Regions from separate parts of the Homo sapiens genome. Here region 2 is linked to region 1. Evidence: promoter capture Hi-C in human tissues and cell types (Jung and others, 2019). All regions are on one chromosome and are shown on one strand. Each heading gives the region's core, a stretch centred on a gene start or on the middle of the fragment in contact. The rest is flanking DNA. Distances are from core to core; before and after follow the strand shown.

Evidence for each region. The method cuts DNA at HindIII sites, captures the fragments that hold promoters and counts their contacts. A contact is called where the count stands out against the background at its distance.
Region 2: the fragment with the promoter of PRLH here is called in contact with the fragment with the promoter of LRRFIP1 in region 1 in 2 of the 25 tissues and cell types used here (IMR-90 fibroblasts and ovary).

The regions. Positions count from the first base shown.
Region 1 is chr2:237,622,748-237,629,843 of GRCh38, forward strand. LRRFIP1 (LRR binding FLII interacting protein 1) reads left to right here and starts at 4,840. Exons shown (of 24, transcript NM_001137550.2): 1 at 4,840-4,993. The coding sequence starts at 4,898. The HindIII fragment of the contact is 12,440 bases long and covers 1-7,096 here.
Region 2 is chr2:237,563,511-237,569,618 of GRCh38, forward strand. PRLH (prolactin releasing hormone) reads left to right here and starts at 3,064. Exons shown (of 2, transcript NM_015893.1): 1 at 3,064-3,163; 2 at 3,502-3,665. The coding sequence starts at 3,064. The coding sequence ends at 3,665. RefSeq lists an enhancer at 1-413. The HindIII fragment of the contact is 10,563 bases long and covers 1-6,108 here.

The DNA.
Region 1 (7,096 bases), core at 3,590-6,089:
TAGAACCCTTTTTTTTTTTTTTTTTTTTTTTGAGAGGGAGTCTCGCTCTGTCTCCCAGGCTGAGTGCAGTGGCGCAGTATCAGCTCACTGCAAGCTCTTCCTCCTGGGTTCAAGCAATTTTCCTGCCTCAGCCTCCCGAGTAGCTGGGATTACAGGCATAAGCCATGGCACCTGCCCTTAGAACCCAGATGTTTTTGATAATGGAAATGATCCGCAAGTATTTTTAAACTCCCACAAGTATTTGCATATTTATGTACAAATTATGTTCCTAGTTTATCATCATTAGTTAATAAATAAAGGCACAATATCCACTTAGAATGAAGTTAATCATTAATGATAGGAAATGTAAATTAATGTTTAAATAGTTTTGATGGTTACTAAACGTTCTTATCCTGTCTAATAACCTTATACTGAGGCCAGTGAAGACCTCCTGCCTGAACTAAGAAACAAGTCTCTCATTTTCTTGTTTATTTGTGGCTTTTGGGAATCTTTTAAATCTTTTGAAGCCATTTATCTACTCTTTGAGTTTTAGTTAAAACTAGGTTAGGCAATCCATAAATCCTTTTAACCTGGTCCACCGAAATATATCAAAATATGCAGAAAATGATGTAATGAGAGAGCACGCCACTGCCAGCCCCTGAAATGCTTTGAGTGAGTGACCGCTTGAAATAAGCTTATAGACCAAAAATTAGTAACATTGGATTTCTAATTTTTAGTTGAAGATATATATAACAGAAATTCTATATTTGCTTCCCCTACCCCATAGATTGTCTCAGACACCCTACCCTGGAGACACCAAGTCCAGAAGGTGACTTATGCTAGTAATCCACAGATGAGGGATAAGGGGGACCAGCTGCAGAGCTTGGTGGTATCAGCAAACATGCCAAAGGAGGATCAAAATGATCAGATAGAGATGAAGGAAAAGACCAGCTGGGTATTTGATCAGATTTAGTAGAGAAAGGAGAAAGGATTTCAAAATGGTTCCAAGGTTTTTACTCCAAAAAACATGAAAAAGTTACTGGAAGTGATGGTGTCCTGGGAAGGAAGAGGCATTTATTGGGGCAGGCATCATCCACTGATTTATTTTGGAAGTGCTGTGATTGAGCTACTGAAAGATGCACCTGAAAACGTCCAGCAGGACAAAGGAGACACCATTCACCTCCTGAGCAACACATAGACCCTGACCTCAGCCAGCCCCACTTCTGGGCAGAGTGCTGGCTCCAAGTTCCATGCGTGAGAGATGGCTCTCCTCTACGGGTCCTTCAGCATTCCTGGGGGGGGGCTGCAGTTCTCCTGCCCTGCTCCAGCTGTAATCCAAAGCAGGGCTTTCCATCCTCTGGGAACTGGAAGAGCAAGGCTGGAGTGCTGGTGAAAGAGGTTTGAGGTAGGCCCACGCGGATGATGCTCTCAATGGACCCAGAGTGAGTCACGTTATGGCCCACATGATGGCTCAGATGGCTCTCTGCCTGAGAAGCTCTGAGTCCTCATGCAGACTGGACGCCCCTCCGTAGCTGCTCATCAACTTCCTTTCCCAGCCAGCCCCCAGGGCTTGCCCACTGAGCTCCTGAACCAAGGCAAACTTGCGCTGGGGACGGCGCCGCTGTGTGGTTTCCCTTGCCAAGGCTTCCCTGGCTGCCTCCACTTTCTCGTGGAGGCTTCCTGAAGGTGGCATCTGTATTTTTGTGAAGGGACTTGGTACCAGGCTTGGAGATGAACATGTTAATTCTCTGGCCCTGGACATCAGATCTGTGATATAGTTTCTCAATTTCCTGCTCTGAAGTAAGCCCTGGTGGGTAGTGTCACCATCTGGAATAGGAAAAGGGCTAGATGGGAGGGGTCAGTAGTGCTGGTGGCAGAGGCCAGTCTTCTCAGTGGAAACAGGCTCATGCACTTCCACGCAGGGAGGGCCGACGGTCAAGGGTGGAGGAAAAGCCACAATTTTTCGGTGAACCCATGGATCAGCATGATGGAGTCTTGCAGGTCTTTATCTTCCTCCAGGAGGCACCCCAAGCACGGAGAAGACCCACCAAGCTGCCTGATACCTCTGTCTAGCTCCCCTCTGCCCAGACAGGAACTGCTGTTCACCATTCATTCCAGACCTGGGCCTTTGAGGACAGGAGCTGTAAGGATGATTGATCGATTGCCTGTGTGTGAAGCCCTGGAAGGGCTCTTGCCTAGAATACTGTCCCTACCCTGACAAGGTAGAGGCCATGGTCTGGATGGCGGTGGCCCCCCCATTCATATGTCAAAACCTAACCCTCAATGCAAGGTGGGGCCTGCAGGTGACCAGGTCCTGAAGCAGAGACCTCATGAACGCGATGAGTGCCCTTACACAAAAGCCTGGAGGGAGCCCGTCTTCCACCATGAGATGACACACAGAAGGCACCATCTGTGAGGAATGGGCCTCAACCAGACACTGATTCTGCTGGAGGCTTGATGCTGGACTTCCCAGCCTCCACAGCTGTGAACAATACATTTCCGTGGTTTTATAAATGACCCTGTCTAAGGCGTTCTGTTACAGCAGCACAAAGGAACTAAGACAGTGGGCACCCGTATTTCCATTTAGAGGCGGAAACTGACTCTGAAGTGAGAACCGGTCCACTCTGAGAGCACATCGCCAGGGGAAGAGGACTGTAGCCAGGAAGTTGTTATGTCATGGGGTCATGGGAGGACCCAGCAATGTTGTTTCTGATGATTTCTGAAAGGCGGCTCTTTTCTGGAAGTGGACAGATGATGGGGGAGGGGCAGGAAGCTGAATTCACCACAGTGTCCGAGAACACTGTCTACCAGCGGGAGCTGTTCAGACACACCTCTGGCCAGTCCCCACGGCAGTGAATCTCCTGTCTCTGGACAACAATCCAACAGGGAAAGTGGGGAGGAGGGTTGGGAACTGAACTCTGTTCCACAAGTTCAACCACTGCACTCCACTAAGCAACTGGCACAGCCAGTCCCTGGTGAAGGCTTAAAGATGAGGAAGATGGGGTCAGCGCCTGCCCTCCTGGCCTCAACACATCAGGATGGAGGATTTAGGTGTTAGCAAAAAGTGGCTCAAAGTTCCAATGAAGGACAGGGAGCAAAGGGAGACTTCTTTTAGAAAGGAGACGTTGGAACTTGGATATGGCTTTAGTTAAGGAGCTCCAGGCATCTCAAGTCAGCCCTGAGAGGCAGCAGCCGTGTCTGCCTCTCGGACAGCTATGCCCCAGCCTCCAGCTCAGCAGCTGGCAGGCAGCAGGTGTGGGTGCAGGAATGAGTGAACTCATGGGGACCAGCCTCGGCAAAGACGCACAGTCCCCACAGTGCCCCAGGGGCTGGGAAACAGTGAGCAGCCACCAGCAAGACCAAGGCAGTGCAAGTGGCCACGGCTCAAGGTTTCCCCCAAGGAGGACTATGTCACTTAAGGAGTATGGCCTCTGAAGTAATGTAAATATGGCCTGGAAGATTCAGTCAACACCTATTTCCTTAGTGCCTACAATGTGCAGGTGCAGTTTCTGCTCCCGGAGTTCAGTCATGAACAATGCCACAGTCAGCCCTGCCAACCCACCTGCGTCAGCTCAGGCACCCAGAGCAATGTCACCTGGATCTGCCCTCCCTCCCATGTCACTGGACTCGCTGTCTTTTCCCTGCAATGAAACCTCCAACAGCTTTCCCTGCCACTGTGGGTGGAAGGGCCCTCTTCCTCTTCCCACCTTCATACAGCTTCCAGGCCACCTCCTTAAGAATCCAAAGCAATCTGGTCACACCACTTGGTGGGAAATACACCGAAATGTTAACTGTCCTTATCACTGGGGGAAAAAAATCACAGGTGACTTCAGTACAGCCTCCTCTCCTCTACCATCACTACCCTCCCTCCCATCCTTCCCCAGGTCCAGCCACACTGAAGTTCTCCCCATACCCCAAACACACCAGTAACTTTCCCACCCGGTGCTCCTGCCGTGCCCTAGGCAGGGGCTTTTAACCCCTACCTAATCCTCCGATTTGCTTTACTTTTAAATCCACCTCTGGAGCATAGACTGTGAGCTTCAGAGAGCACAGGTAAGTTCATTACTTTTTCAACAACTAGGAGAGAGCTGCGACGCACCTGCCCCGATCCTAGAGGCTGGGGACCCACCAGAGAAGTGACAAGTCCTTGATCTCAGGGGGCAGACAGCGGGGAGAAGGATGGATGCTAGCACGGAGAACACGCGTGTAAAGACAGAAACGCACACATCCACACCATGCCGCTGTGAAGCCGGCGCCCAGGAGGCTGGCCAAGGTCACAGGAGCGGCGGTGGCGGGCGGATCCGAGCACCTCTCGGCCTGACCCCAGAGCCTAGCTCTCACCCCGGCGAGGGACTTCCACCCCGACTCACCGCGGAATGGGGAGCGCCAGGCTGAACCAAATCCTGTGCTCACCCCTCCGTGCAAACCCCTCAAGGCAACTCAGGCCTCTGAAAGCCTTCCTACCCCCCCGCTCTCCGCTCAGGTCCCCACTCAACCGGTGCCCACCGCCCTGGCGCGCGTCGCTCCGCGATTACCGGCCCGCCAAACAGTCCCCGCAAAGTCCACCCTCCGGGGCTCCCGGTCCCTCAGGTCCCGCGTGCCCGGCCCTGGGCATCCGCAGCGTCCCCGTGGTATCGGACCCCCATCGTCCCTGACACCTGGCGTCTCCGCCCCCCGCCCCCGTCCCCCGCCCCGCCGTCCCTGGCCCCTGCAGTCCCTGGCCCGCGCTGCGGACCTCCGGCTCTGGCTTCCCCCGGGTCCCCGCGGCCCCCGTCCCCCCGCGTCCCCGCGTCCCCGGCCCAGCGCCCGCTGACGCCATGACGCCGCGGCGGAGGGAGGGGCCGGGGCCGGGGCCGGGCCGGGGCGGCGCGAGCGGCTGGAGCAACGGGCCCCGCGGCAGCTGCGGGCGACGCGGTCGATGGACATGGGCACCCAGGGATCGGGGCGCAAGCGGCTCCCCAACCGGGAGCGGCTCACGGCGGAGGACGACGCGCTCAACCAGATCGCGCGGGAGGTGAGCGCTCCGGGAGGGCAGCCGGGGGGCGCCGGGCGGGCGCGGGGGCCGGACGGCTGTCAGGGTCTCTCCGGCGTCCGTCTGTCCCGCTGTGCGTCTGTGCCACTGCGCGTCCGGCTCCAGGCGGGTGGGCCGGGCAGGCGCGCGCCGGGGCGCTGATCCCCAGGCGCTGCGCCCCGGCCCCGATCTCCGAGGCCTGCGGACCCCGCACCCGTTCTCCAGCCCCGGGCCCAGCCCGCGACGCTGCGCGCCCTCCCCCACCCCGGCCACCGTCGGCCGCTGCGCCCTCGGGAGAGGAGCCGGGCGCCGCCAGCGCGCGAGGTGGCCCGGGCTGGCCGGGTGGGGGCGAGCGCCCCGCTTTGTTGTGCGGCATGGGAGGAGGCGGGGGCTTAGGCCCGACCTGGAGGCAGTGGACGGTCGCCGGAGGCCACATGGCCCTGCTGAAATGGCCGAGTCGCTCAGGTGACCATTTGTCATCCATCCATCGATGTCACTCAAGGTGCAGCTCAGAGATGAACTTGGGGATCACTGTGATTTTTCTTTCAGGACTGAGCCTGGAAACGGGTCCAGGCACACTGAAACGTCTTCATTAAAGTTTCCTGGACAGAGTTTATTGTAACTAAGATCATGTTTGGTGATGAACTTTACCTGTGACAAATTGAAGGCGCACTAGAATGGGTATTTGTACAAATGCCTTTTTTTTTTTCCTTCCGCAAGGATTCTACCTTAAGGCTAAAGAATGTACATGACATCCAGAAAGCCGTACAGGGACAGAGAGCAGCAGCTTGGGAAAAGGGGAGCCAATAGGTTGCGGCCCCAGGGGGACAAAGGAAGCTTAATTTTTGACTGTGTTCCCTTTGTACCATTTGAACTGTGTGCCAGGTGGGTGTATGAATGCAAAGAAAGTCTCTGCCTTGTAACCCGCCTTACAGGTTCTTTTCCGTGTTGGCTTTTCCACATGTGATTCTTCCCACAGGAAACACCTCCAAGCCATTTGGACTGTGGTGTCTGGCTGTATCCGTCAGATATTCTGGGGGATCTACTCTGTAACCAATCCTTAGGTGTTTGTAGTTGTAAATACCTGATTTTGCTCTTACGGACATGTGGCAGTCACTCAGTATTTGTTGACTACTGAGTGAATAAAGACTTCTGTTTTTCTCTGTATGATACAGAAAAGGGCTTTCCAGGCAAACCCTTATTCATTCCTGGAAGCCCACTGTGACCTCCAGGAGACCTTCCAGACTCAGCCCTCTCACATCGCACCAGGCCTAAGTCTCCCTGGCTCCACGGCCCTCCATGGCATGCCCGCGCCTGGCATGGCAGTCAGGATACCTTATCATTATTTGTCCACCTGTAGAAGGTGACACCCAGACAGGAAATATCTTACTTTTGTATCCCAAGAGCTCAGCACAGAGCCAGGCACATACTAGGTGTTTGTCTATGTCTGTTACATTAATTAATAAACAAAAGAAGTACAAGGCATTTAAAGGACCTTTGGCTAAATATAGACATTTGCTAAATATAGTAGCTTGAGTATAACTCCCTCCTGTGAAGACAGTCACTTATGTATGCATTTGACCACAGTGCCTTACAAGTGTTCCCTGCAAGGGCCAGAGGTGGCCAGTGAATCGCAAGCCTTGTCTTGATGTCAGTGGTTATGGGGCAGAAGAATGAGAAGAATGAAAATTTCCAGAGTTTGCCTTTTATCCACTGGTGTTTCTTTCTTCTTTTTTTTTTTTTTTTTTTTTTTTAACACAGTCTCACTCTGTTGCCCAGGCTGGAGTACAGTGGTATGATCTCGGCTCACTGCAACCTCCACCTCCCAGGCTCAAGAGATCCTCCTGCCTCAGCCTCACCAGTAGCTGGGATTACAGGCACGCACCACCACACCCGGCTAATTTTTGTATTTTTAATAGAGACGGGGTTTCACCGTGTTGGCCAGGCTGGTCTCAAACTCCTGGCCTCAAGTGATCTTCCCGCCTTGGCCTCTCAAAGTGCTGGGATTACAGGCGTAAGCCACTGCGCCCAGCCTATCTGCTGGTTTTTATAAAATAGATTGAAAAGGAAGGCAAGGGAACACTCCTTGGGTTGAGAGCCCTGAGG
Region 2 (6,108 bases), core at 1,814-4,313, 61 kb before region 1:
TGTGTTTTAAAACCACTTGGTCCAAATGAAATTATATAACCCAGGAAGGAACAAATCGCATCGCTGATGAGTTTTGTTTTGTGTTTTTTTTTTTCAATAAAGGAACGAGAAGAGACACAGGCTCGCTCCTGATGCCGCCCTGTGAGGGAGACAGGCTGGCTTGGGGGAGGGCACCTGGGGGTGCCGGCTTCGTCCTCTCGGGGGCTATAAAAGGGGAACAGAGGCTCCCGCCTCCTCGGCTCCACTGCACCCGTAGCCAGGACAGCTCCTCTACCACACTCGAGAACGGTGAGTTGCACATCCAGGCGCTGGAGCTTGGGCCCTCTGCTTTGCTACTTTGTAAAATCTTCCCTTGCTGTCTGAGTGTGGGTCGGGTTGAGACCCTGCCTGCTCTCCTGGCAGCTGAGGCTAGGCCTAAGCAGGAGAGGCAGAGACGGCTGGCCCCTGGGTTCTTGCATCCAAAGCCACCCTGCCCTCCCAGGGCACCAAGGCTCCGGCGCTGTCCATGGTGGAGACTCCAGACAAAGACGTCCCATTCAACTCCGCTGACCAGGAAATCCCACGGGGCAGCCGGCCAAAGTCTCCACCTCTCAGGGAGGCAGGTCTTTGGGGATCAGGAGCCAAGTGAGCATCGTTAGCATTCTCGGACACCCCTCAGGTGGCGTGGGTCCCGTGCCAGAGGAAATGCAAACGGCCAGCCTGCTGGGATGAATCTCTTTATCACTCTTCAAGGTGGCACCTCCATTTCCTCTAGACTGGGGAACCCCCCACCCCACCTAGCATGGGACGCCCCTCCAGGTCTCTAAAAAGGAAAGGTGTAGGCATTTTAAATTGTTCTGATGGAGAGCACTTTCTGTGGGGCTCAGGGAGGGGCTGGAAAGTCAAGGTCGGCAGGGGGATCCTTCCCAGAGCAAGATGGAGCTGTCGGGCATCTTCCCATGGCACCCAAAGTGCCACAGGTGGAGGAAGGAGGAGGGGTGCCTGCAGCAGGTGTTTCCAGGTCTCCCATGATGGATGCTGTTTAGGCATTTCAGCACCTCCACTCCAGTGGGGTGGAAGGGGCTTTCCATGCACCTGGTGTCATCCACGGCAGCCCCCTCCTCCCATCACCGATAGGAAGTGGCCCTGCCTTGTGAGAAGAGGTCCCAGATGCTACAGGCTTACCTTGGAGCCTCAGAAGACTGGATCTAGCGTCATGGCAAGGGTGAGTGGGCTTACTTAGGGCAGAGGATGCAGACTCATTCTACGACACGCAGCTGTCGGCTGACATTCCCCAGCAGGGCTGGGCTGGCAGGCTGGAACCAGGCATTAGGAGGCGCTGAGATGAATGTGGGAAGGGGCCGTGCACCGGATTCCAGCCCCTGAGCCTGGTCCAGGCTTGGCACTCCCCAGCTCCCCAACCATGTCTGAGGTTGAGCAAGGGGCTGCCTCCACCTGTGCAGCTCCCTGGGCACCTCCCCACAAACCTGCTGTCCTGGGTGTGCAACATGCACAGCCGTGCAGAGGCCTGCTGCACCTTCTGATCCCTTAACACAGGCGGACAGACGGACCCAAGGCTGTTCCATGACAGCCCCCCTTTATAACGCGTAGCTCACACCTCCTGAGGGCTTTCTGATCATGAGCATCAATGTACATGTGACCGATCCCGTTAGAGGCTGACGCGCACAGAAGCATCTCACTTAACACCTCATTGCGCAGAGGAGAGAATGGGGTCACAGGCGGGTGGGGGACCATGCAGAGAGCCAGGTTTAACTGCTGTTTCTGTGCTTATTCCCACCTCAGCACAGATCAGAGGAACACGTGGAGATCTATGTGGCTATGTGCACGCGCACATCTACACACATACATACACATCTACACACTCACACACATCTACACACATACATACACTCACACACAACTACACACACATCTACACACATACACACACATCTACACTCATACACATCTACACACACTCACACACATCTACACACGTACACACACACATCTACACACACATCTACACACATACACATCTACACACATACATACACACATCTACACACATACACTCACACACCTACACTCATACACACATACACTCACACACACATCTACACATGTACACTCACACACCTACACACATACACATCTACACACACTCACACACACATCGACACACACACATCTACACACATATCTACACACATACACACATCTACACACATACACACACACACAGCTACACACACATCTACACATACACACACATCTACACACATACTCACACAACTACACACACATCCACACACATACATACACTCACACACAACTACACACACCTACACATACACACATCTACACACACACATCTACACACATACACACAAACCTACACACATACACACATCTACACACAGACACATCTGCACACATACACACGCATCTACCCAATACACACAGACACACTACACACATACACACACATCTACACACACACACATCTGCACACATACACACATCACACACTCACACACATCTGCACACATACACACACATCTACACACATACACACAAACCTACACACATACACACATCTACACACAGACACATCTGCACACATACACACGCATCTACACAATACACACAGACACATCTACACACATACACACACATCTACACACATACACACATCTGCACACATACACACATCTACACACATACACTCACACACATCTGCACACATACACACACATCTACACACATACACACACACCTGCACACATACACACATCTACACACATACACACACATATCTGCACACATACACACACACAGGCACCCATGTGCACACACCACACCCTCTTGTACACATATACATACACAGCTGTGCACTCACATGCACACAGGCTCATGCACATACTTCTCTCTCACACACAGTGCTCACTCTACCCAAGGTCCCAGCTCCGTGCACACGCACCCTGATGCCTGTGTGACGCTGCTCCTGCCCCTTCTCCCCCAGGCCGTGTCCTCCTCATTTGGATCTCCCCTCCAGCGGGGCCTCCTCGGAGGAGCCAAGGGATGAAGGTGCTGAGGGCCTGGCTCCTGTGCCTGCTGATGCTGGGCCTGGCCCTGCGGGGAGCTGCAAGTCGTACCCATCGGCACTCCATGGAGATCCGCAGTGAGTGCCTGGACCCCTGTCAGCCTCCCTTACCCCACCCTGCCTCACCCCAGAACCTAGTGCAGCCTGGTCGCTCGAGAACCTGGCAGGAACGGGGTGCGCGGGAGGAAAGGGAAGTCAGTCTTGGTGCTTTTTTGAACTCCTGCTTCCCAAAGCCAGCCCACGCCCAGAAATGGCCTCGCCAGAACCTCTGGGTGCCTGTTCCTCGGGTGGCTCCCAGCATGGCCTGGCGACTGGGCTGAGAGGCCCTGCCTGTGCACTCTGCCCCGCTGCCTCTGGGAGCACAGCACACCCTGGGGACACGTGCCCATGGTCTGCTCCAGCTCTTTCCTTTCCAGCCCCTGACATCAATCCTGCCTGGTACGCCAGTCGCGGGATCAGGCCTGTGGGCCGCTTCGGTCGGAGGAGGGCAACCCTGGGGGACGTCCCCAAGCCTGGCCTGCGACCCCGGCTGACCTGCTTCCCCCTGGAAGGCGGTGCTATGTCGTCCCAGGATGGCTGACAGCCAGCTTGTCAAGAAACTCACTCTGGAGCCTCCCCCACCCCACCCTCTCCTCTCCTTCGGGCTCCTTTCCCTTCAATCCTAATAAAAGCTCTGGTCTTCAGTTACACATTCACGACTGTGTGGTGGTGACTCTGAAGTTGTTCCCTCCTGGGACATTAGACTAGAAAGAACCTCAGAGCCCAGCAACTTCTTTGGAAGAAAAGGCTTTGTGACTTGGCAGAGGGCACTTGGCACTGAGTTGGGGCGCTGGGTCTACCCTTGGTCACCGGCAGCCCACAGCCACCCCCACACCCAAGCTGCCCTGAGTGGCTGCCCAGGCTGTCCACTGCAGAAGGCCAGGAGGTGCCACGCGTCATACTCTGCAGGACACTGTCCCCATAGGACGGTAGCACAGCCCCCAGCCTGAGCCCTGGGCAGCCCCTCAACTTCAGTCCTTTTTATTTAGACTATTTTTCAGAGCAGCTTTAGGTTCACAGCAAAATTGAGTAGAAGGTACAGAAAGTTCCCATCCACCCCCTTCCCCCACATCCGCACAGCCTCCCCCATGATCAACACCCCCACCGAGGGTGCTTTTGTCCCAGTCGAGGAACCCACACTGACACATCCCCATCCCCAACCAGCGTATGTCAGAGCCCACTCTCCACGCTGTGCGTCCTGTGGGTTTGCACAAATGTACAACAACACGATGTGGCATCACGCAGAGTCGTTTAACTGTCCTAGAAGTCCTCTGGGCTCCCCCTACTCATCCCTGCACCCCGCAACCCCTACAACTGCTAGTCCTCTCATTGCAGTCTGTCTTGCCTCCCTCTTACTCAGGGAAGATGCATCATGGATTGTTTCTGACCCATGGCAGGGAGACTTGAACCTAGATTGCTCCCACGCCACGTGCGTCCCTTTCAAATCACACGGGGATGTCTCCACATCCTGCCTCAGGTGTAGCTTAGGTTGGCATTGGGGGCACACTTGCACCACCTGGGAGACTGAGTTCATCCCGTGAATCACTGAGCCTCAGTTTCCACAACTGCATGCCACAGAACAGCAACGCTTACCTCATTCCTCAGCTCCGTGGGCGTGGCACCTGCACGCCTGCCGGCACAGGGTGGGTGCTCTGTGAGTGCAAGCCCCTTCCCCAAGGCCCATCCTCCACCCAGCCATGTAACAGGCTTCACCAGCTCCCTCCAACCCAAAGCTTGGCCTGGACTCTTGCTGGACCCTGCCTGCAGATGCTGATCTCAGGAGCCCATCCTGACCACAGCCCTCTTGGCCATCCATGCTCAGAGGGGCCAGTGGCAAGGCCCAGACCACCTACACGGGGCTGAGTTGGGGTGACTGCACCTCCCCAGCTACAGGGGAGCCCCTCCAGCCCTGAGCCACCTCGCCAGGGTAGAGTGAGCCTGCAGGAACAGGAAGGGGGGCAAGGTCTGTTCCGAAGGCAGCAGGGGCTGGGTCAGGCCTTAAAGAGGCCACAGCCCTCAAAAAGTTAAACACGGAGTTATCAAACGACCCAACAATTCGCCCCAGGTGTAGACCCTGGAGAACTGAGGGCAGGTGCTCAGCACATCACAGCAGCGTTTACAGCAGCACCCTTCCAAGTAGCCAAAGGGTGGACATGACCTGAATGCCCATTGCCTTAGTCAGTTCGGGCTGCTCTAATAAGATAGCATAGGCACAGAGGCTCAGCCAGTAAACACTCACTCCTCACAGTTCTGGGGGCAGGAAGTCCAAGATCAAGGTGCTGGCTGATCCGACACCTTGATCCGACACCATCTTCCTGGTTGACAGACACCGTCTTCTCGTTGTATCCTCACATGGCAGAGAGCAGAAACAGGAAGCAAGCTCTCTAGCCTCTTCTTATGAGGGCACTAATTTCATCCATGAGGGTTCCACCTTCATGACCTAATCTCCTCCCAAAGACCCGATCTCCTAATACCACCATAATGGGGGGAGGATTTCAACATATAAATTTGCAGTGGCGGGGACACAAACATTTCATAACACCCATCAACAGAAGAATAGAAAAACACAGCGTGGTCTATCCATGCAATGGAATATTACTCAGCCAGGAAAAGGAATGGACCACTGATACATGCCACAACACGGATGAACCTTGGAAGCATCATGCTAAGTGAAAGAAGCCAGGCACAAGAATTCAAATGTTGTATGATTCTGTTTATATAAAAACGTTGTATGACATTGCATATTCTATGGAAGCAGATTCATGGCTGTCAGGGGATAGGGAAGAGGGGTGGGGGGATGACTGCTTAATGGATATGGGGGTTCCCTTTTGGAGGTGGTGAAACGTCTTAGAACTGGACCACGGCAGTGGCTGAAGAACAGAGTGAATGTACTAGAAGCATATTTTCAGCATCCTTCTCCCACGAATAAGGCCAGTCTCCTACATAGCCATAAAATCATCATACCTGAACAAACCGTTGTAGTA